Linked DNA regions of Homo sapiens: regions 1, 2, 3, 4, 5 and 6 are each linked to region 7. Evidence: promoter capture Hi-C in 16 types of primary human blood cells and fetal thymus (Javierre and others, 2016). All regions are on one chromosome and are shown on one strand. The core of a region is centred on a gene start or on the middle of the fragment in contact, and the rest is flanking DNA. Distances in the headings are between cores, read along the strand shown. Region 1 overlaps LOC102723341 (a long non-coding RNA gene). Region 2 overlaps LOC107986640 (a long non-coding RNA gene). Region 3 overlaps LOC124901395 (a long non-coding RNA gene). Region 4 has its middle 29 kb from the start of HDDC2. Region 5 overlaps HDDC2 (HD domain containing 2). Region 6 overlaps TPD52L1 (TPD52 like 1). Region 7 holds the start of HINT3 (histidine triad nucleotide binding protein 3).

Region 1 (3,079 bases), core at 464-2,963, 580 kb after region 7:
GTTTCAGGGAAAGAAGAGTTAAACCCAGCATTCCCTGGTAGCAAAATGAACTCCCTCCCTTTGCTTCTCTCCTCTTCTCTTCTCCAGTCTTATTATCTCCATATCTCCCTGCTCTCAGACTCAATCCATTCTCTTCTCTTTCATATTCTAAACAGCTTTTTTTCCCTGTTGGTTTACTTTCGTTTAGAGTAAATCATCTTACCCACATATGCTTTGGAAGGAAAAAAAACAAAGAGACAGATTACAATATTATGTTCATACTATTACATTTTATTTTTATTTGTAAAGATAGGGTCTCGCTGTGTTGCCAGGGTTGGTCTTAAACTCCTGGGCTCAAACAATCCTTCTGCCTCAGCCTCCCAAAGTGCTGGGATTATAGGCGTGAGCCACCAGGCCTTTTCTTATTATTATATTTTTTATATATGCATAGAAAAATACCTAGAAAGATAGACTTAAGTTAGTCATGGCTTCCTATGGATATTAGGGTTATGAGCGAATATTCCTTTGTTTTTCTTTCTGTATTTTTACTTATCTATGTTCTCTATTTTTCTAAAATAAGTATACATTTTTTAAAAAATTAAAAATCCAAAGCTTTAAAAATCAACTAAGAGATCACTAACATTGGGATAATCCATATATGTCTTTCTTTTTCTTTTTCTCTCTCTTTTTTACTTAGCTGAACTCTCATTTTTCTAGAATAAGCATACTTTTTTAATTTAAAAAATCAAAGGCTATAAAGAATGAACTAAAAAGACATCAAAGGAATTTTTCTATTTTGAATTCTAGCTGTTTCATGGAGAGTGAAAAGACAAATACCTGTAAATAATGTCTGAAATATAAATATATTATAAAAGAGTGAAGGACTTGATATAGCCTTAGAATATGAAATAGATAATTGAAGTCCCAATCTCTTTGACTGGCTCTAAAATCACATACATTTTATTGTCTTGCCACTGTGCTTAGCTGTTGGAGAGTTTTATACCAATAACGGCATGACTAATTTGATGAAGATCTTAGGAAGTAGGGAAACAAAAAATATCTATGTGGCTGACATATGGGAAATCATATGAAAAATATGAATTTCCTTTTCCCAAAAAAGTTGTCAATAGAGGACAGGTCAAATTTCTTTAGTTAGCTCACTCTTATTGATCATATAACATGTACCCGGGACTGTACTAGACACTTAATTTAATTCTTAGAACACTATGAGTGAGGTAAAACTATTGCTTCCATTTTTCAGAACAGAAAATTGAGGCAACAACATCAAGCAGCTAGTAAGTAAAAAACTGGGATCAAATCCTGGCAGTCTTTCTCTTAACTACTGTTCCACTGCTTAGGGAAAGTTTAGCCAGACTTTGGTCCTTATATGACAATAGATGAGATGGTGGTTGAACTACCATTGTGTGTTAGACAAAATTTATGAAAAATATACAAAGAACCCATTTCATTTCAGAGAATATAGTCATAGGTGTGAAAGAAACTTTAAGATAATGGCAGTTCTTGCCTTCCAGCAGGTGAATACCTGTTTCTTACATGATCATCTGTTGTCTATTCAGTTCTAAAATACCTAATGATACAGAATTCTTTGTGGAGTGCTGCAGAAGGCAGGCTCTAAGTTGACTCCCAATGGCCCTCACTTCCTAACATTTACACTCTTGTATAATCCCCTCTGCTTGAGTGTGGGCTGCACATGGCCACTGGCTTCTGACATATGGAAGAGGGCAATAGGGATGGGATGGGATGTCACTTCCGAGATGAGGTCGGAAACACTATGACTTCTATCTTGCCCATTCCCTCTCGCTCTCTTTCATTCTCTAGCTTACTCTGAGGGAGGTCTGAATGCCATATTGTGAGCGGCCCTGCTGAAAGACCCATGTGGCAAGGATCTGAGATCATTGGCCAACAGGCTGCAAAGAGTCCTACCAACAGCCAGGCTGGTGTTCTTGGAAGTGGATCTTCTCCTACTCTCCTACTTGAGATGACTGCAGCCCCAGCTAACACTTCGATTGCAGCCTTGTTAAGATATCACGGGCCAGACACACCCAGCTAAGTTATGCCTGAGTTACTAGCCCACAGAAATGATAAGATAATAAATATTTGCTGTTTTAAGCTGCTAAGTTTTGGGTTAATTTGTTATACAACAATGGATAACTAATACAAGTGCAGTCATTGATCTCATTGAACACACCCGTAATTCTTTGGAAAAATGTCTACTTTCTCACCAAACTAAAATCCATTAATTCCAGTAGTTAGGTGTTTGGCAATGCCTTTAAAACGATGCATAGAAGTACATGGCCAGGTCTTTAAAATTGCGTTGCTAGACTGAAGAAGAGCTGTCTGACTTACTGGGCTTCCCACGTTCCTGCCTTCAGTTCCTGGGTTAGTGTCACAGGTTGCGGATTTTCCACTCCATCTCCCAGTCATGTCTCTGGCACTTCCCCCGCTTGGCTCCTAGTAATCAACTTTGGCTGACCTCTAACTCTCCACCTCCTGGACCACAAAATAAACCCAATGCTCTGATCATAGCTCCTCTGCAACTATGTTTACTCCTTGGTTTGGGATCTGCCCAGACTCTCATTACGCCTGCCATAGCATTATCCCTCTGTCCTGTACCTACGGATGAAGCAAACCATTGATTTCTCCAACTATGCTAAGTAAGAGCAAGTCATATTGTAAGTAATTTAATAATATAGAATTTCTAGAGTTATAAAATAATGAAGCAATTTTATAAAAACTATCTTTTTAACAGGTTAAAAAATAAAGCAATGTCATCATTTCCATTAAATTTTGAACAATAGAAGGCAAGCACTACTCATTTCTAAAAAGAAAGCTTGCGCTTTTGAGGATGAAAAGGTTTGAGTTAATTGTAAACCATGTAATCATATGGTTATTTTTTAGCTTTAAACTAATAAAATAATGGTGCCTTCTTATCACGGTAGGCAGTGCGTCAGTCTCATAAACTAATACAACATTTTGCTCTACAATACATTTGAGGTGTTTTCTACATCAAGAATTTGCCTCACACTGACAAAATAATTGTGCAACATATATTCGTTGAAAAGCTATAAAAGACAGGACA
Region 2 (3,037 bases), core at 457-2,956, 600 kb after region 7:
TCTACACTAGAGTACAAGTTCCTGAGGACAGATCCCTTGCCTATCCTGTGTCCCATCAAAACTTCTGGGCTGAAACTTTCTGGATGGTAGCCAGCACTTAGTATGTACTTATTGAATTAGCAAATGAATTAATCTATGTTTGGAAAGATAAAGAAGCTGTCCAAGTGAGGCAGTGTTAGGGGCAGTTTCAAGTGAAAGAAACAAGTGCAGAAACTCAGGAAATAGAACGCACAGCTGTTTGAGGAGGGTCATTGGCCTGTTTCGGTAGATAAGTAAGGTTAAAATGTAAATTATGTAAATTGTAGCGGGAGAGTGATCTAAAATTGGCAGGCAGGGCCACTGTGTCTCCAACTAAATTGGAGAGAGAAATTCTGTAAGAGGCATAAGAAGGCTACCTTCCTAGAGCTAAGTGCCTCTTGATATCCATACACAGCTGAGATCTTCTGACTGGACTATCTATCAATTGGTCTTTGACACAGTTTCAAAACAGTAATAGAACACAGCAGTAGAATATTTCATGATGATGACAGCATAGTTGGAGCATTCAAGTCACTCACTCTGAGGTTAAATTTCCAAGTGTATTTTTCTCTTAGATTTAATTTCTGGTTGAGAGAACAGTTCCAAATGTAATACAGATCTATTATATGGATATAATGGTGGAATCTGTTTTTCCTGCTTCACTACTTATTTGTCAGCTAAGAATCTTGAGCAAGACAGTTAACATCTCTGACATGATCATCTTGTTTGTAGATAGGGAGGAGTTAATGATGGTATCTCAGGGATTGGGAGAGTAGCAGTATACCTATGTATATTTAAATTATCCAAAACAAGGTAAATGTGTATGGTATGCACCATATGTAAAAATGTAAAAAGGGATAAATATAGATATTTGCTTGTATTGGAATAGAATACCTCTGGAAAAATACACAATAAATTAGTGACAGTAATTGCCTCTGTGGTGGGGACTGGGGACAGAGGTGAGAGAAAAGATTTTCATAATATGCATGCCCTTTCCTACTTCCTACTCTTCTTTCTTTTCTTCACCCATCCCTGTCTTTCTTATTGCTAGTAATGGCTAATGTAAAGCATATCACTCTTTTGCATGTATCACTCTTCTCCCTGACTCTACTGCTATGTCAGAACTGGGACTTCTACTTCACAGAAAACATAGAGATTATCTTCAGATACGTCTCAGTTTTATGATCATTGTCTTAGATATCACTTGCCTTGGCATTAGATTTTACTTTGATTTCTGCCATTTCAGAGGATAAGCTCACCTGCTCTCTTTCCTCTCTTTATTTGTATATCTGTCTCTGTCCCTCTTTTTGTACATTCTCGGTGGTATTGAAGTATCCTCATATGTTTCTTATCCTTAAAAAAACCATTCCCTAGCCTAGACCTTGTTAGCTGCCATTTTCCTTCTCTTTTCCTCTTTATAACTACATTTCTTAAAGACTTTTCTGTATTTTCCCTCTCAACTTTATCATTAATAGTCACATTTTGCCCCACTGGATTTGATTTCCTGCACTCCCCTGAAACAGTGTTCCCCAAGCTCACTAAAGGCCTCTGTTGTTATTAAACCCAATGGACGTATTTTCTATCTTTATTTGACCTCTGCCCAATACATTGTCACCAAAGTCTACTTTCTTTCCGTATTTTTCTTCTGTGACTTCCATAAAGCCTTCTTCCTTTTCCTCACCCTTGTCTGAGTGGGGAGTTTATCTTACTTGTTCTCATAAAAATCTAGGGGTACATCTAGTATGTAATCATCTATGGACATGAACACGTATTTTCTCCATTAGACTGTGATATTCTGAAGACAAGAACTGTGTCATTTCGGTTTTTGAATCCTTAGTGTCTAGGACAGTGAGTTCATCAATAAATGTTGCTTTATAGAACATTAAATGAAAGAGAAAATTTTCTTCTCTAACTTTAGTTTTAATGCTAACTGTGACAGGAACAGCTTCTTGCCTCTAATATCCTTTCTCGTTCTCTTTCTTTATAATGGAAACTTAACTGTGTTCAGCTGTGAAATTACATTTCCCGGCCTCTCTGGTTTGGCCATATGATGAGGCTCAGGGTAATGGGAGGAAAATAGAAAGTACCTCCAGAAGGCACTTTAGAAAGGAGGATCATATCTTCTTTCCTTATTGTTTCTTCCACCGTGAAGTGAATAGTTACAGCTCTATCAGCCCTCTTGTGACCTTGAGAACAGAAGGCAGAACAGCAAGAAATAAGTCTAGGTCTGTGAGATTTTTGTAGGGTTCTATGGTTTGAATGTTTGTACCCTCTCAAACTTATGTTAAATTTTAATTTCCTTTGTAACAGTATTGAAAGGTGGGAACTTTAAGAGATAATTAGACTGTGGGGGCCCTGCCCTCATGAATAGATTAATGCTGTTATTTCAGAAGTGGTTTCCAAAAGGATAAGTTTGGCTCTCTGTTCTCAATCTCTCTCTCTCTTCTCTCTTTTTTCTCTTTCTTTCTCTCTCTCTTTTTTCTTTCTCTCTCTCTCTCTCTCACTTTCCTTCTCTCTCTCCCTCTCTCCTGCCCTTTCTTTCTGTCTCCCTCCCTCTCATCCCACCCTTTGCCCTTCCTCCCTAGGATGATGTAGCAAGAAGGCCCTTGCAAGGTGCCAGCCCCTCAACCTTGTACTTCCCAGCCTCCAGAACCATGAGCCAATACATTTTTGTTCATTATAAATTACTCAGTCTGTTCTATTCTGTTACAGCAGTACAAAATGGGTTAACACAAACAGTTACCACACCAAACCTGTAAAAAATACCTCTCAACTTTTAAAAAAAAAGAGAATATGCCAGGTACTATGGCACATTCCTGTAATCCCAGCTACTCAGGAAGCTGAGGCAGGAGGATGGCTTGAACCCAAGAGTTTGCTCCACTGCCCTCCAGACTGGGGGGCAGAAAGAGGCCCTGTCTCCTGTAAAAAAAAAAAAAAGAAAAAGTAAGATAATAGACATTTAAACTGTTTAAGTCACTCTAAGTAGATCGCTATTACTAACAGCTGAACTTAATTCTAA
Region 3 (3,090 bases), core at 154-2,653, 690 kb after region 7:
CTGGAAGGGCAGTGCAGACCCGAAAGTTGGAAACATTGATCACCTCAGCACAGGTGTGGGCGCAGTTTACAATGCAGTTGGAGCATGTTAACCTATGGCCAAAATGACAGAGCAGGCACAGCTACTAACAGAGGTAAGTGACGTCCCTCAGGCAAAATACAGGCTAACTTTTCATCCATGGATAACAATGCAGCTGCCAAGAGCTTCTGCCCTGGGCGATGGTACCACACCTTCTCAGCTCCCCATGGTTCCTATGGGTCCGGTATCTATGCCAAAGTCAAGGGGAAGCTCATAATAGGCCACACAGACAGTACTTATGTCCCCCAGAGGAGCGTTTCTTCCCTGGCTGTTGCCCTAAGAACAATCAACCAAGGGTGACATGTATTGAATGCCCAAGGAGTGACATGCAAGTCATACTGTAGGTCTTCCCCACAGGGAGCTACAACGGCCAACCACCAGCAGTGGGGAGCCTGGAGGGTCCATGGCCAGAGCCAGGTTTTCTGTTCCCCTCCCTTCAGGGGCATTGGGGCAAGCAACAAAAGGTTACCGTTCGTCCCCATACCTGGTCGGAGGAGGTCATCCTTAGTGTGTATCTGCAACTGAATAGGGGTGGTGGCCCAGTGTAATAAAGCCTCCACCAGGGCTGGGCGGTCTTTCCATGGCTGTTCATTCAAGGTTTGAACCACCAGGTCCAGCTTGGAACTCCAGCACTGCAAAGACGGGTGTGACATGCAAGTGTAACCCATTCTTCAAGAGCCCTTTATATTGCTCAATCATACCCACAGCTTGTGGGTTGTATGGCACATGGAATCCCCACTTTATGTCCATTTGTTGTGCACATTGTTGTACCTGTTGTCCAGTGAAATGGGTGCTCTATCACTCTCTATGGCCAGAGGGCAACCATACAGGGCACATAAGTGTTGCAGGACCCGGAGGATGTGCTGTTGGTTGGCCACCCTGCAAGGGTAGATGTACAACAGGCTTGTGGCCATGTCCACAGCTGTTAGCACATGTGTATACCCTTGCAATTTTGGCAGCGGACCGATGTAGTCTACTTACCACCTGGTCAAGATCACTCGCCCTGTTGTCACTTGTGTAAAAGTGGGCAGCTGCCTCCATTTAGGGTATGACCAAGCACATACTGGGCATTTCTGACGAGCCTCCCAAATACCTTGCATGGGCAGGGACAGACCCCAACACTTATTGCCCTGTTACATCAGTTTGCCCCTGGCATGTCCCAGTTTCTGGTGTAGCCAGAAGGCCACATCTTGTGTTGGTGCCGACTAACCATTGGACCTTGGCCAAGACATCTGCCTCATCATTGCCAAAGGTGGCCAAAGGCATATGGCCTGACACATGATAAATAATTACATCTTTCTGATGATCCATTTCCCAGAGGTCTTGCCACATCACTTGGCTCCATGACATAGGTCAGTGGCTGACTAGCCAATTTTGTATTTTCCAAGTAGTTAACCACAAGGTTAAGCCTCGGTAGGCTGCCCAGCTATCGGTACAAATCACCATAGATATCTGCTCCTTAGTGATCACCATCTATACTGCTGTAAGTTCAGCCCATTGGCTACTTTGCCCACACCTGGTTTCAAACCATATGGTGTCTGTACTAGGTTGGACTGCAACAGCGGTCCAGGCAGCATTAGATCCTTGGCTAGACCCATCTGTGTACCATGCCCCATCAGGAATGGGGGGTACCCTTCCTTAAACGGTGATGGCTTGGGGTCTAGGGGTGCCCCAGGCCCTATAGCCTTCTCTTGCATTAGGACTATAGGTCCCAAGACCTCTTGCAATTCTGCTGCCAAGGGTCTTGTACTCAGCAAACTTTGCTGCTCCAAGTAGGTGCCCCACTTTGCCAAAGTAGATGTCTGTGCCATCCCAGTCCAGGGGGGCATTATCCATGAACACATCCATCCCACTATTGGGTAAGCCATCCACATGATGACTGTAGCCCATCCTGTCACACTTTCACAAGACTGAAATGCTGCATATACAGCTGCTAGCTGTTTCTCTATCAAGGACTGTTGGAGCTCAGCTCCTTTCCACAGTTAAGACCAAAAGCCTACTAGTGTTCTCAGGCACTCTGTATGCTGCCACAGGCCCCAACTGAAACCATCTGTGCTCACATGCACATCCAGCTCAAACAGGTGCCCCTGGCCAACTACCCATAGGGCTTGTGCCTGCTGAATAGCCCACTTGGCTGCCAGGAAAGCGGTCTCAGCCATATCCCAATTCCAGGTAGCTCTCTTCTTTGTTAACCGTGCAACAGTTTTGTCATTTGAGCTAAATGGGGCAGAAATGCCCCCCAGTATCCCAGGAAGCCCACAAAAGTTTGTAGCTGCTTCACCGTGGTGGGCCAGGGCTATGCCTGAATTTTGTCAATAATAGCCTCTGGTATGGCCATCATCTTACCTAGACAGGAAACTTCCAATAATTTGGCAGATAATCCAGACCCTTGGACCTTGGATTCATTGATGGCCCAACTGCATGCTGCCAAATGTTGCTGCAAGAGAGGCACCGCCACATCTAAATCTACAAGAGAATCAGAGGTTAACATATCATCAATATAATGGAATAGGTGGACCCCTTCTGCACATTGCCAAGTGGCTAAATCCATGACAACAAGACCATGACATATGGTGGGGCTATGCACATAGCGCTGCGGCCACATTGTAAAAGTCCATTGTTGCCCTTGTCACGTGAAGGCAAACTGTTCCTGGCTCTTGGAGCAATGTCGATGGAGAAAAATGCATTGACCAAGTCCACCACATAGTGGTACTGTCCCAGTTCCATTGTCAAGCAGTCCATCAAATCCATGATTGACGGTACAGCTGCACTCAAAGCGGGTGTTACTTTATTCAGTTCCTGATAGTTTACCGTCATCCGCCTAGTTCCATCAAGCTTTCTAACTGGCCACACTGGAGAATTGTAGGAGCTGTGGATGCCACACACTATCTGCACCTCCTCCAGCTTTTAAATTGTCTCAGTTATCTTCATATGCCCACCCAGCAAATGGTATTGATGGGTGGAAGTAACCAGTTGGGGTTGTGACAGGACCTGAGGCTTGTGATGCCTATG
Region 4 (2,857 bases), core at 263-2,762, 630 kb after region 7:
TAAGCTCTAGATTTAACTATCAATCTATGAAAAATATAAGAAACATAGAAACACACACTAAACAACATTTCATGGATGAAATCAACAAAATCAAGACTGCAGGACACTCTACAGTACAAATGGCCCAATTTGTCAACAGAAAATTGCAAGGAAAAAAAAAGAAGAAAGAAAAGGAGGAGGGGGAACCAAGAAGTCAAAGGAGACTTGAGAGACCTATTAAGCAATCTCTATGTATAGACTGTATTTGGACCTTGAATCAAACAAATTGTTAAATACACACACACACACACACACACACACACACACACACACGGCAATTTGCAAAATGTGAACATTGAATATTTGATAAGAAATTTCTTATTTTTAGGCATGAGAATAATATTGTCATTATATAGTTTTGAGTCCCTATCTTTAGAGAAACATTCTAAAATATTTATAATTTATATAATGTCTAGATTTTGTTTCAAAATAATCAGCATGAGAGTGGAAATGGGGAGATGGCTGAAACATGATTAGCCATGTGTTGATCATTGTTAACACTGGGTGGCCAGCACATGGGCATTTCTCATACTATTGTCTCCACACTCAGATGTGTTTTAATTTTTGTATAATAAAAAAGCTCCCAAAAAATAAAATTACTAGAAAATAAAAAATACATTAAATGCGCAAAAAATTGCTTACAAGGATATACAAATGATGAGAAAGCATATAATAAAGTTAGACAAACAAATGAGGAAAAACAAGAATGACACAGAAAACAAGCAGGAACAAAGCTTAAAATGTATATCATAAGGACCTCCACATAGGCTACTGGTGGGTCACGTATTTGCCCAAAAGTTTTTAGTAGTTAATGTAAAAAGTGAAACTTTTGGCCAGGCATGGTCAGACATGTGCCTGTAATCCCAGCTACTTGGGAGGCTAAAGCGAGAGGATCTCTTGAGACCAGGAGGTCAACGCTGCAGTGAACTATGATTGTGCCACTGCACTCCAGCCTGGGCAACACAGTGAGACACTGTCTCCAGAAAAAAAAAAAAGTGAAATATTTGAGTTACAAAGTTTTTAATGTCAGATAAATATTAATCGCTCCGGAAAAGCTGCTTGCTCAGTAGTTTAAGCATGCTTAAAGTTAAGATTTTACCAGAATTTCTCTGGAAGAAGTCTCTTGAAGGGGACATAGTGTGCTTATTCATTCATACATTCATTCATTTATTCACTCGTTTTTTCAGCAAACATTTTTTGAGCACCTAGCACATACCAAGCTCTGTGTTAGAAGCTGGAGTCATGATGATGAACATGAAGACAAAAGGGACTCCTGCCTTCACAGTGCTCACAGTTCAGTGAAGAAAATGACAAAACAAGGAATTAAGATGAAGCTGTGATGGGCAGAACTCAGCAAGGAGACCTAATCCCAACCAAGGATAAAGGAAGAATTATTCCCTGGAGAAAGCAACAGTTTTCTTAGTTGATATCTGAATTGAGGGGCAGGAATTAACTAGGAAAGGGTAGTAGGAGGGAAGAAGTTCTCAGATGGTGAGAAAAACCAAGATGGATGGAGAAAACAGAGAAGAATAAGTTGGTGGTGATGAGGCTGAGGAGGCAAGCATCAGTCTGAATGTGTCCACAACCAACTCCTGATTTTCTCCAAGAATTTGCTCCACTTCCAGTCTTCTCATGTCAGTAATGACAACTACATCCTTTTAGTTGCTCAGTCCAAAAATCTTGGGGTCATTTTGGTGCCTGTTTTTTTGTGTGGCGGTGTGTGTGTGTGTGTGTGTGTGTGTGTGTGTATGTGTGTTTTACAATGAACATTCAATCCCTCAGCAAACCCTATTTGTTCTCAAGTAAATCCAGAATCCAACCCCTTCCCACCACCTCCACTGCTACAGTCATTGCTTCTCACCTGGATTATTTAAACAGCCCCCTCCCAAGTGATCTTTCTGCTTCTATCCTTGATTATCCACCACAATCCCCTAACCCCAGTGGCTAGTGGGATTTTTTTAAAATAAATATCTTAATTCAAACCTCAATGGCTTCTATGCTCAGAATAAAATCCGAAGTCCTTACAAGGTCCTGTATGTCCCTACACTATTGGGCCCTCACTGACCTGGTTTCCTGCTACTCTTCCCCAGCTCACTAATGGCCTCCTTGCTCTTCTTCAAATGCACCAAGCACATGTGTCCACTAGATATAGCATTTGTTCTTGCTGGTCCCTCTGCTTGGAAGGCTCTTCTCCCGGATACCCCCAAGCTTTCTTTCTCATTTTCTCAGGTGTCTGCTTAAATACTTATTTGCAAGTGACACTTTCTCTGACCATTGCATATGAAATAGTAATACCCCCTTTCCTGAATTTTTCTATATAGCCCTTGAATTAATTGAAGTAGCCATTTGCTATTGCAACAACTTCAAAATTTCAGTAGTTTAATACAACAAAAGCTTATTTCTTACTCATGCAACAGTCCAATAGGATGTTTTTTATCGAACAACATTTCTAAGTAGTTCATCTTTTAGCAATGATTCAGGTCTCAGGCTCCATTCGTCCATGACTCTTCCATCACTTTGGTCCTCTGAGTCCACTGATACTATTTGTTGCATCTGCTATCAGATAGGTGAAGAGGAGGCAATAGAGGATAACAGGGAAGTTCATTTTATGGGCCAAACTTAGGAGTGGCACACATCTCTTCTGCCCATATTCCACTGGCTACAGTCACACAGCTGCATTCACTGCAAAGGAAGCTAGAAAATGTAGCCCAGCTCTGTGCCCAGGGGAGAAAAAAGAGAGTGTGGTGAACACTTAGCCAGTCCTAGCCACAGCCTGTCTTTCATTTATGGACACCAAACACTTGTTTTGCTCATCCTG
Region 5 (2,901 bases), core at 98-2,597, 670 kb after region 7:
TAAATTATTTTCTTAGCCATCAGTAACTGGTGAAAAACTTTACTGCAAAATTTACTTGCAGTAGTATCTTCCAAAGATAAATGCTACAAAAGCTATTTAGAACGGCTTTGAATTTGAACAAATATAAAACAGAGAATTAAAACACTTGATAACCCCTAAAGAGGTAATAAGTTTACTATCTTATAAATGTCATTGGTTGAATTAATGAAGCCTGATAAAGATTTCTCTCCAAAAGCAAAAGGAGGATTCTTCCTTGCCTCTTTCTAGCTTTTGGTTATTGCAGTCCTTGGTTCGCAGACACATCACTCCAGTCTCTTCCCTGTAGTCACATGGTATTGGCCCTACGTCAGAACCCATGTCCAAATTTCTCTCTATTGAATAAGGGTCCGCTCTCATCAAGTAAGACCACGTCTTAACTTGATCACTTCTGTCGAGACCCTATTTCCAAATAGGGTCACATTCACAGGTCACATTTACAGGTTGTAGGCGGACATAAATTTTTCAACATAGTATTCAACACAGTACAAGTTTCTGTAATAATTTATGCATTTTATACTTCATGTCTAATGTTGGTACATAAGTTTCAGACTTCCAAGGTTCAAATAGTGGCTCCCCTGTTTACTAGCTGTGAGATCTTGAGCAATTAATCTCTCTGTGCCTCAATTTCCTCATCTGTAAAATGGCAATAATTATAGGGTTGTAGGAATTAAAGTAATTAATATACATAAAGCAATGAGGATACTGCCTGGCACATAGTAAGCTCTATTTTTCTCTGTCTCCAGTCCATGTATCGTGGTTTTTGGTTTAAGAAAGTAGGGTCATTCTGTACTCACTGAGCTTAGAATAGCATTAGTTACATAGAAAATGACAGTTGATTGGTTTTAGAAATGCTAATTACAACTATTTATCACTTTAAAATATTTCTTAGCCCAGAGGATCACATCTATTTGCAGCCATTAAACATCCTTGATTATAATTTATCTTTTATCATAAAAAGTGAAATCACATTTCACCCAGCCAAGAAAAAACATTTTTATTTTATTTTTCTGAAAGTATCACAGAAAGATGTCTTCTCCACCACCTGCATTTTGCCTTAAAGAAATGTCCTTTTGAGCCCCAAGGCGTGAGGGGAGCCTCTCCTGCATGTGAAATGCCTAGTACACCCCACCGTCCTTGGATTGTTTCTAACCCCAAGTTTTCTCTCCACATTGTCAGAAGTTCAGTCAATTGGAGATACAGTTAGGTTAACAAGTACCCTTTTAAAAATGTCTCCCCCCAATTCATTCTTCAAAGTACAGGTGGGGCTTGATGTAGAGCAGCATAAGGACCCCAGAACCCTGGAGGGAGAGTCACTAGGAGGTTGGAGAGGGGAAGATGCAAAAGATAAACTTCCAAGAGATCAGCACTTCACTCAGGGCCAACCTTTTCCCCAGGAAGAAGGAAATGTTTTTTTTTTGTTTTTTTTGTTTTGTTTTGTTTTTTTTAATTTTTTTTTTTTTATTATACTCTAAGTTTTAGGGTACATGTGCACATTGTGCAGGTTAGTTACATATGTATACATGTGCCATGCTGGTGCGCTGCACCCACTAATGTGTCATCTAGCATTAGGTATATCTCCCAATGCTATCCCTCCCCCCTCCCCCGACCCCACCACAGTCCCCAGAGTGTGATATTCCCCTTCCTGTGTCCAAGTGATCTCATTGTTCAATTCCCACCTATGAGTGAGAATATGCAGTGTTTGGTTTTTTGTTCTTGCGATAGTTTACTGAGAATGATGGTTTCCAGTTTCATCCATGTCCCTACAAAGGACATGAACTCATCATTTTTTATGGCTGCATAGTATTCCATGGTGTATATGTGCCACATTTTCTTAATCTAGTCTATCATTGTTGGACATTTGGGTTGGTTCCAAGTCTTTGCTATTGTGAATAGTGCCGCAATAAACATACGTGTGCATGTGTCTTTATAGCAGCATGATTTATAGTCCTTTGGGTATATACCCAGTAATGGGATGGCTGGGTCAAATGGTATTTCTAGTTCTAGATCCCTGAGGAATGGCCACACTGACTTCCACAATGGTTGAACTAGTTTACAGTCCCACCAACAGTGTAAAAGTGTTCCTATTTCTCCACATCCTCTCCAGCACCTGTTGTTTCCTGACTTTTTAATGATTGCCATTCTAACTGGTGTGAGATGATATCTCATAGTGGTTTTGATTTGCATTTCTCTGATGGCCAGTGATGATGAACATTTCTTCATGTGTTTTTTGGCTGCATAAGTGTCTTCTTTTGAGAAGTGTCTGTTCATGTCCTTCGCCCACTTTTTGATGGGGTTGTTTGTTTTTTTCTTGTAAATTTGTTTGAGTTCATTGTAGATTCTGGATATTAGCCCTTTGTCAGATGAGTAGGTTGCGAAATGTTTAATCTTCCTGTTTTCCTTTCCTCTGCCTATTTAGTCCTCCATTTTCAGGACCTAGAATTTGAATCTCCATCCTGCTTGGACTCCTTGTCCCTCTGTTGCTCTTTGAAACCCCAGTCTGAGTCCTCTCCTGTCCTACCAGAAGGCTGCGAAACACTGATTCAGAGACTCTGTGCCGTGGGGACTGGGGTCACAGCCGCCCTGGCCACCAGGCTCTGCAGAGCCTCAGGGCTGCCAGCACCCCATCAGTGGGCCTCGGGTCACCTCCCTGCCCCTTTCTCCCCCTCCCCTGTCTGTGCCCCACATCAGCTGTTCAGCCCTCTCTTCAAGCATCTATCTTGTCACTTCTCCCCTGATTTTATAGCAAGTATTCTTGCCTCTTCCTTCTTTGAGAACATAGACACTGTCAGATAGGAAGTTCTCCAGCTTTTTAGAAGCCTTGCAAATATGTTCACCAACCCTATTTCAGAATAATTTTCCCTG
Region 6 (3,142 bases), core at 49-2,548, 790 kb after region 7:
GAATTACAGGCATGAGCCACCCTACCCAGCCCATAAGAGTTATTTTGAGCTGAAGGCATTTGAGTTCCCGAAATCCTTTATCTGACTAAAAGCAGAGGTTCCCAAAAGAACTCAGCTGTCACAAATTCCTCCCACTGGGAGCAACTCTTTCTTCTCTTCTAGACATTGTCACAAACTGTCATATCTCCCATCTATTCTCCTAAGGACCCATTTATCTTTTTTTTTTTTTTTTAAAGAAGTCATTTGCTCTCTCAATATTGCCTTTTCTCCACCTCCCTTTCCTGTAGTAAAATGATACAGAAAATCAAATCTCATCACTCCTTGGGGTATTCATTTCTTTCTATGACACCCTTGTGCAAGCAAAATTTAAAATAAATAACTTTGTAAGCTTTTTCTCCTGCTAGTCTGTCTGCTGTAAGTTTAATTCACAGGCTCCTAGGCACTTCACCTAAGAGGGTAGAAAAAAAGTTTTTCTTCCCCTCCAATGCTTATGAGAGCCTTCCAATCATTTTAAATAAACTTTACAGGTAGTGCAGGTATCTTGTAACTTCCTGTTGGAACCCTGGGATATCTAAAGAGGAATAACAGGAGCCAAGGTCTATACTTCTTCCCAGGGCTGACCTAACCCTTCAGGAAGAAAAACCATCTTTCCATGACGTCTTTATGTAGAAATGAGTCCATTTTGGAAAACAAAATGTTGGAAAATATTTATAGACAATGAGCTATTAGCTCTTTATGCAGAGAGAAAAATCAGTGAAAAACTACAAATATCCAACCATCAGAGACTTTAAAACTGAGAGATCTGAAGAGATCTCCTCCCACTACCCCCATCCCAAATTGGCTTTTTCTTTTGAATGAATCAGTTCTGCTTCCGTGAATATGCTTGGGAGATGGTTAAATGAATAAAACATATCCATGTAAACAAGTAATTATAATACTCATGAGGCAATAAAAAGCTTTCTTTTTTTGGGTACTCATTGAAATTAGTCCTTTCAGCCAACATCTAAAGGATACAAATCCTACTTTCTGGAAACAAGCACGCAGATCCTATGACTTATTTATTTTAAAATACTGAGATTACTGGGTATGGACGAACACCAAGTAGAATAACATATTTGAACCATTCCATATTTGAACTGACTTTTCCTAGCAGCTGGTGATAAAACTCTATACTGGTTCTAAGAATTACATCTCATGTGACTTTTACGGATCTTTTTAATCTTGAATCAGTTCTGCTTCCATGATCCTTGACAAGACGCTCTTGCTATTAATGGACAAAAGAAATGTCTAATTATAAGAAAAATGTATTTCCAAGGAGTTGAAGAGTTTTCCATATTTTAGATATATGTCAGGGAAACTGTAATTTGTATAAGATACAAATAACCATAGGTAAGTTTGGAGATGAGGTGTAACATATACATGCATTTTTCATGTGTGGTACATGATCTGGCTACAGCAAAGTGCTAGATTTTTGCCTTTTGAGAAAGAAGCAATATGTTGGTGACTAAGGGTATTCTTGGAGATTTGTGGTTTTATTCTGGGAACTTCACTTCCTCTGCATCAAAATGCATCACTTATAAACGATTCACACTGTGAGAAATTGCTTAAAATTCATCTTTCCTTGAGGACCCAAAGCTTCCTTTTAGCCATTTCAAATTCATTAAAATATTCTCCTGCCTTCCCTGGTACATTAACAATGCTTCTCAATTTAATGCATATATTTCAAATCATTACACTTTATTGCTTAAATATTCAATGAAAAGTAGGATGACAGATGTGAATATCCACATTTTGAGGTCACCTTTTATGTGTTCTTAACTGTGTAGTAACTCAGTAAATTTTTTCTTGTTTTACTTTTTTCTTTTAGTTTTATATATGTATACAAAACTATATATATACAGTTAAAATATATATATATATCTTTTTTTTAAGAGACAGGGGTTTTGCTTAGCCTGGGTTTGAACTCTGGAGCTCAAGTGGTCCCACTGCCTCAGCACCTTGATTAGCTGGGACTATAAGCACTCACCACCATGATCAGCTTAACTCAGTAAATTGAAGAAGTGACTGGCTTTACGGTGTTGTTGGGGACATTTCGCAACAGAAGTAATGGTGAACCTCTGCCTGCATGGAGAGCATGCCAGCTGATCAATGACTGAGGCAGATGCCCTCTTTTCTGCAGTTGCTGCTTCAAACCGTGAAAATTCAACACAGAGATGGCTAGAGTCGCTTAAGGACAAATCCATTGATGGCTCATTTTTTTCAACAGTTTTACTAGGTATTTTCTTAAAGTAGTTATTCTGCTAGTATGGTTGGGAGATGGTTAAATGAATAAAACATATTCGTGTAAACAAGTAATTATAATGTTCATGAGGCAATAAAATGCTTTCTTTTTTGGGGTACTCATTGAAATTAGCCCTTTCAGCCAGCATCTAAAGAATACAGATTCTACTTTCTGGAAAGAAGCATGCAGAGCCTGTGACTTTTATTTATTTTAAAGTCCTGAGATGACTGAATATGGATGAACACCAAGTGGAATAACATATCTGAACAGACTTTTGTTTGAGCTGGTGATAAAATTCTGTATTGGTTTAAGAATCACATGTCATGTGATTTTTATAGAATTCTTCATCTTGAAAACAGAACAAAAATAGCAAGCTGTTGATAAATGAGCATCCTCCACCCGCAACTTGACATGTCGCAAGGCTTACTCTTAAAGATCTCCAGTCCCATTCATATTCCCAGACTTAGACCCTGCCCACATATGAAATGAACTGTACAATTAAATTCTGCCCGTTTAAAGCCTCTTTGATCATATAGAAAATAAAGCAAAACCATTATTTAAAACTTTGCACACTGACTGCTTGTGCATACAAAGTACCTATAGAATGGTAATTGAAATCTCAAGATATGAAGTCAAACTTTCTGATTTCAAATCCCAACTCCAACACTTCCAAGTTGTATGAGTTGGAGAATGTTGTGTAACTAGTCTGTCATTCAGTTTCATCATCTGTAAAACCAAAATGTTACCTTCCTTGTGAGTTTGTTATTATTATTGGTTTTTTTCTTTTGTTTTCTTTTTTTTTTTTTTTGAGACAGAGTGTCACTCTGTCACCCAGGCTGGAGTGTAATGACATGATCTCGG
Region 7 (3,238 bases), core at 353-2,852:
GCTCTTCAGATAAAGACAAATTCCTTCACATGACTTCCAACACACTTAATAATCTGGTCCCTTGTTTACCTCTCCAGCCTCGCCTTTCATCCTCTCAAACTCTATGCACTAGTTAGACAATTTCTGTTAGTTTTTCTATCACACAAACTGAACCTCTCGGGGGGTCTCTCAACCTGGGACATTATTCTCTCCATTTCCTCATCTGATCAACTCCTACTTATTTCTTCATGTCTCATTTCCTCTGGAAAGCCTTCCCTAATTCTTCAGAGCTGGGTTAGATGCTCCTCCCACAAGCTTACAAAATACTGTAAAATCACCTGACCACAGCACGAGGCATTGTAACTGGCTACCTCCTCTGTATACATTCCGCCCTTTAGATTGTAAAATCGGGACACAGACTGTCCCTTATCTTGCTCAAAAACCTCCAAAACAAGGTGCTTAGAAGGAATTATATTTATTTTTTAAAAAATAAAGGAATGTTTACTACAAAAGACACAATCTTTGGAGCTAATTCTCTCAAAAAGTTGTTTCTATATGGACAAGTAAAACCAACAGAATAAAGTGTGTGCCAGATTATCCGTTTAAAAATATCTGGGCAAAGTCTTCATGCTCTGAAAATGTCCACGCATCCCAACTGACAGTGGAATTCAGAGGCAATTCAATAATAGTTTGACCTCAGACCCACTCCCTCCAGCCTATTTTCTGCCAATCTAACAAACAGCTTTCCACAATTATCATTACCTATTTTCTACTAGTTTTCTCATCAGTATCGGTATTAGAGTGTGCAGGATTTAAAATCAGTATCTTGAAGGTGGAGAAGAATCCTTGTAATAAAAGCAGAGGCCACAAAATGTTATTTGTACCAACTACCTGGGTACCTGCAAACATAGGCCAAAGCATTCGGCCCTGTCATTCACTCTTTGCCCCTGGGAACAGCAAAGATACCGCTGGAGCCACTGCCTGTCAGTCCCCTAGGAGTGAGTCTGTCATCAGCACCCGGACCCTGCAGAAAGGCCCGTAGTGGGCGTATCCCCAGCTTCCCCGAGCCCCATCCACACAGAGCGGCCCTGCCTCTGCGAGCTGAGTAGCGATCGGGATCCTCTGCACCCGCTCCACAACGGCGAGGCCTCCCTGCCGGAGCTCCGAGGGGCGGCCAGGTCCTCACCCACCCCCGGCCGCGCGTCGCCGCCCACCTCGCAGTGCAGGAGTTCGGTGCCCGGGTCCTGCCGCCCCGCGATCCGGCAGAACACGCAGGTGCTGTCGTAGTCCTTGGGCTCTGGTGACTTGCCAGCGGCTTCACAGGTCCCCACTGAGGAAACCGTAGTTTCTGCAGTCGCCGAGGCCTCACAGTCGGGGGCCAGGCCGGCGCTGCGGTTCACCTGTTCCTCCGCCATTGCACCCGCCCCTCGCGGCCTAGAGCCTCGGCCTCTCCAGGGCTACCGGGCCCGCGCAGTCTCCGCGTCCCGCACCTCCTCCGTTTTACCTCGAGACGTCGCCCCTCGCCTGACGCTGGGCGGTGATCCAGGCTTTGGGGAGAGGGAAGGAGACGCGGTGAGGAACTTCAAAGCCGGAGGCCGGCCTCAAAACCGGCTGCCACTAGAGGGCGCGCAATGGCGCTGCCGAGAGTCGTCCTGACCCCTGCGCCTCGTTGGTAATGACGCACGACGTCTGCCAAGTCGCAGAGCGCCCAGCGCGTCGTGGTGACATCACAGAGGCGCGGGAGCGTTTGACATAATGGAGCTTGTTGGGTGTTCTGGACAGGCGTTCTTCAAAGCCCATAGTATAGCGTGTCCAAATATTGTATTACGCTGCCGTTTTTTTAAAAAAAAAAACAAAAAGTTTTTTAAAGTTTGATTTTTAAAATTCGTAGGTTTTTAAAGAATGAGCAAAATTCCTAAAGCCTTGTTTTCAACAGACATCATGTTTGCTGCTTTTTCAGCCACGATAATTGTAGGAGTTTAAACTCAAAATGTCCAAAACTGACCTTTACATCTCTGTTGACTTTTTATTGTTGTTAACAGCACAGTTAGATCAAACTAGCGACCTTTTTTTTAATCTCACATTCCTCATATACAAGTAGATGTGGAGTCCTATAGTCAATACTCTGAAATATCCCAGAAATTCAATGCCAGTGCCTCATAATGCCTCACCTAGACCAACGCAATCACCTTCTAACTTACTTATTGATTTTCCTGTCACTCAGACAAAACCTTCTGTAACTATGTGCTCAAAGAAAAAGTACCAGTTCCTTAGCTTGGTGTTCAAGGTGGACTCTGATTTGACCTCAGCTTTTCGTTTTGTGATACTTCCCACTTGCTGAGCATCTAAAACATGCCATATATTTCTCTAATTGTCAAAAAACGCAAGGTTGGTTTTATAACCACCGCTCTAGAGATGAAGGACCAAACTCAGAGTTGCCCAGTCCCACACAACTAATTAATAGTGACAGAGTTTAAGATCAAGGTTTGTCTAACTCCAAAACCCACCAACCTTTTTGACATACAGCACTCCTTTTTTAACACCAAAAAATTTGTTGGACTAGCTCACTATAGTAGTTACACCCTTGGTATTTGCTGATTTAGAAAATACATAACAAATTGGGAATTCAGTAATGATTTTTAATGGATTTATGTTGTAATAAAAAGTGGTTGTATGTGTTTTGAATTGTTGTACATATACATTCAAGACATTTTTCATTCCTTTTTGTAGTTGGCCCGTAGTTTGGGGAACCACTACAATAGCTTCACTGCCTTTCAGCACCCCAAAGCAGAGTTCAGAATCAATACATTAGAGTTTTGCCAAATTTTAGTATTCACAATTTCCATGCCTGTACTACACCTTCACATCACTGCTTTTATTCACACAGTTCTCTCTCAAATATTCTTGTTTCCATCTCTTCACTCCAAATTCTACCTTCCAAGCCACCCCTCCAATGCTACCTCCTTCATGAAATTTTCTTTAGCCAAACTGACATAAGCACATCCTCTTGCAAATTCATATAACAGGTTTTCAATATTTCTCTTGTAGGATTTGTCTCTTTGTATCTTATAGCTATTTATGTACTTATTTATCCTGCTAGGAATTATGTTTCTTGGCAACAAGATTGGGTGTGTGAATCTTCCATAATGCCTAGTACAGTTGGAACAGGAATTAAAGAATATGTAAGCAAAAACTCAGTTGTATGTAAGAAAACCCAGTTCCCCCTGAGGAGGAGAAAGAGGTAGAGTCCTTTAAAAAT

The links. The method cuts DNA at HindIII sites, captures the fragments that hold promoters and counts their contacts. A CHiCAGO score of 5 or more calls a contact.
Region 1: a contact is called between a fragment that was not itself captured here and the fragment with the promoter of HINT3 in region 7, in 1 of 17 cell types (naive B cells). The highest score is 5.9, in naive B cells.
Region 2: a fragment that was not itself captured here is called in contact with the fragment with the promoter of HINT3 in region 7 in 1 of 17 cell types (total B cells); the score reaches 6.9 in total B cells.
Region 3: a contact is called between a fragment that was not itself captured here and the fragment with the promoter of HINT3 in region 7, in 1 of 17 cell types (total CD8 T cells). The highest score is 5.3, in total CD8 T cells.
Region 4: a contact is called between a fragment that was not itself captured here and the fragment with the promoter of HINT3 in region 7, in 4 of 17 cell types (naive B cells, total B cells, total CD8 T cells and 1 more). The highest score is 9.9, in naive B cells.
Region 5: a contact is called between a fragment that was not itself captured here and the fragment with the promoter of HINT3 in region 7, in 10 of 17 cell types (naive CD8 T cells, total B cells, non-activated CD4 T cells and 7 more). The highest score is 21.0, in naive CD8 T cells.
Region 6: a fragment that was not itself captured here is called in contact with the fragment with the promoter of HINT3 in region 7 in 2 of 17 cell types (M0 macrophages and M2 macrophages); the score reaches 5.3 in M0 macrophages.

The regions. Positions count from the first base shown.
Region 1 is chr6:125,380,370-125,383,448 of GRCh38, reverse strand. The region is part of intron 1 of LOC102723341 (a long non-coding RNA gene); the gene reads left to right. Among named protein-coding and RNA genes, the nearest start is that of HDDC2, 80 kb to the right of the region's middle. The HindIII fragment of the contact is 2,239 bases long and covers 594-2,832 here.
Region 2 is chr6:125,352,047-125,355,083 of GRCh38, reverse strand. LOC107986640 (a long non-coding RNA gene) reads right to left here. Exons shown (of 3, transcript XR_001744328.3): 3 at 1-2,937. Among named protein-coding and RNA genes, the nearest start is that of HDDC2, 52 kb to the right of the region's middle. The HindIII fragment of the contact is 9,886 bases long and covers 1-3,037 here.
Region 3 is chr6:125,269,970-125,273,059 of GRCh38, reverse strand. It overlaps LOC124901395 (a long non-coding RNA gene), which reads right to left. Exons shown (of 2, transcript XR_007059736.1): 2 at 1-2,544. Among named protein-coding and RNA genes, the nearest start is that of HDDC2, 30 kb to the left of the region's middle. The HindIII fragment of the contact is 3,024 bases long and covers 1-2,915 here.
Region 4 is chr6:125,329,165-125,332,021 of GRCh38, reverse strand. No RefSeq gene overlaps it. Among named protein-coding and RNA genes, the nearest start is that of HDDC2, 29 kb to the right of the region's middle. The HindIII fragment of the contact is 1,474 bases long and covers 776-2,249 here.
Region 5 is chr6:125,288,080-125,290,980 of GRCh38, reverse strand. The region is part of intron 4 of HDDC2 (HD domain containing 2); the gene reads left to right. Among named protein-coding and RNA genes, the nearest start is that of HDDC2, 12 kb to the left of the region's middle. The HindIII fragment of the contact is 4,848 bases long and covers 1-2,901 here.
Region 6 is chr6:125,163,864-125,167,005 of GRCh38, reverse strand. All of the region lies in intron 1 of TPD52L1 (TPD52 like 1), which reads right to left. Among named protein-coding and RNA genes, the nearest start is that of TPD52L1, 12 kb to the right of the region's middle. The HindIII fragment of the contact is 679 bases long and covers 959-1,637 here.
Region 7 is chr6:125,955,134-125,958,371 of GRCh38, reverse strand. It overlaps HINT3 (histidine triad nucleotide binding protein 3), which reads right to left and starts at 1,602. Exons shown (of 5, transcript NM_138571.5): 1 at 1,194-1,602. The coding sequence starts at 1,394. RefSeq lists enhancers at 380-429, 1,490-1,589 and a silencer at 1,100-1,319. The HindIII fragment of the contact is 9,214 bases long and covers 297-3,238 here.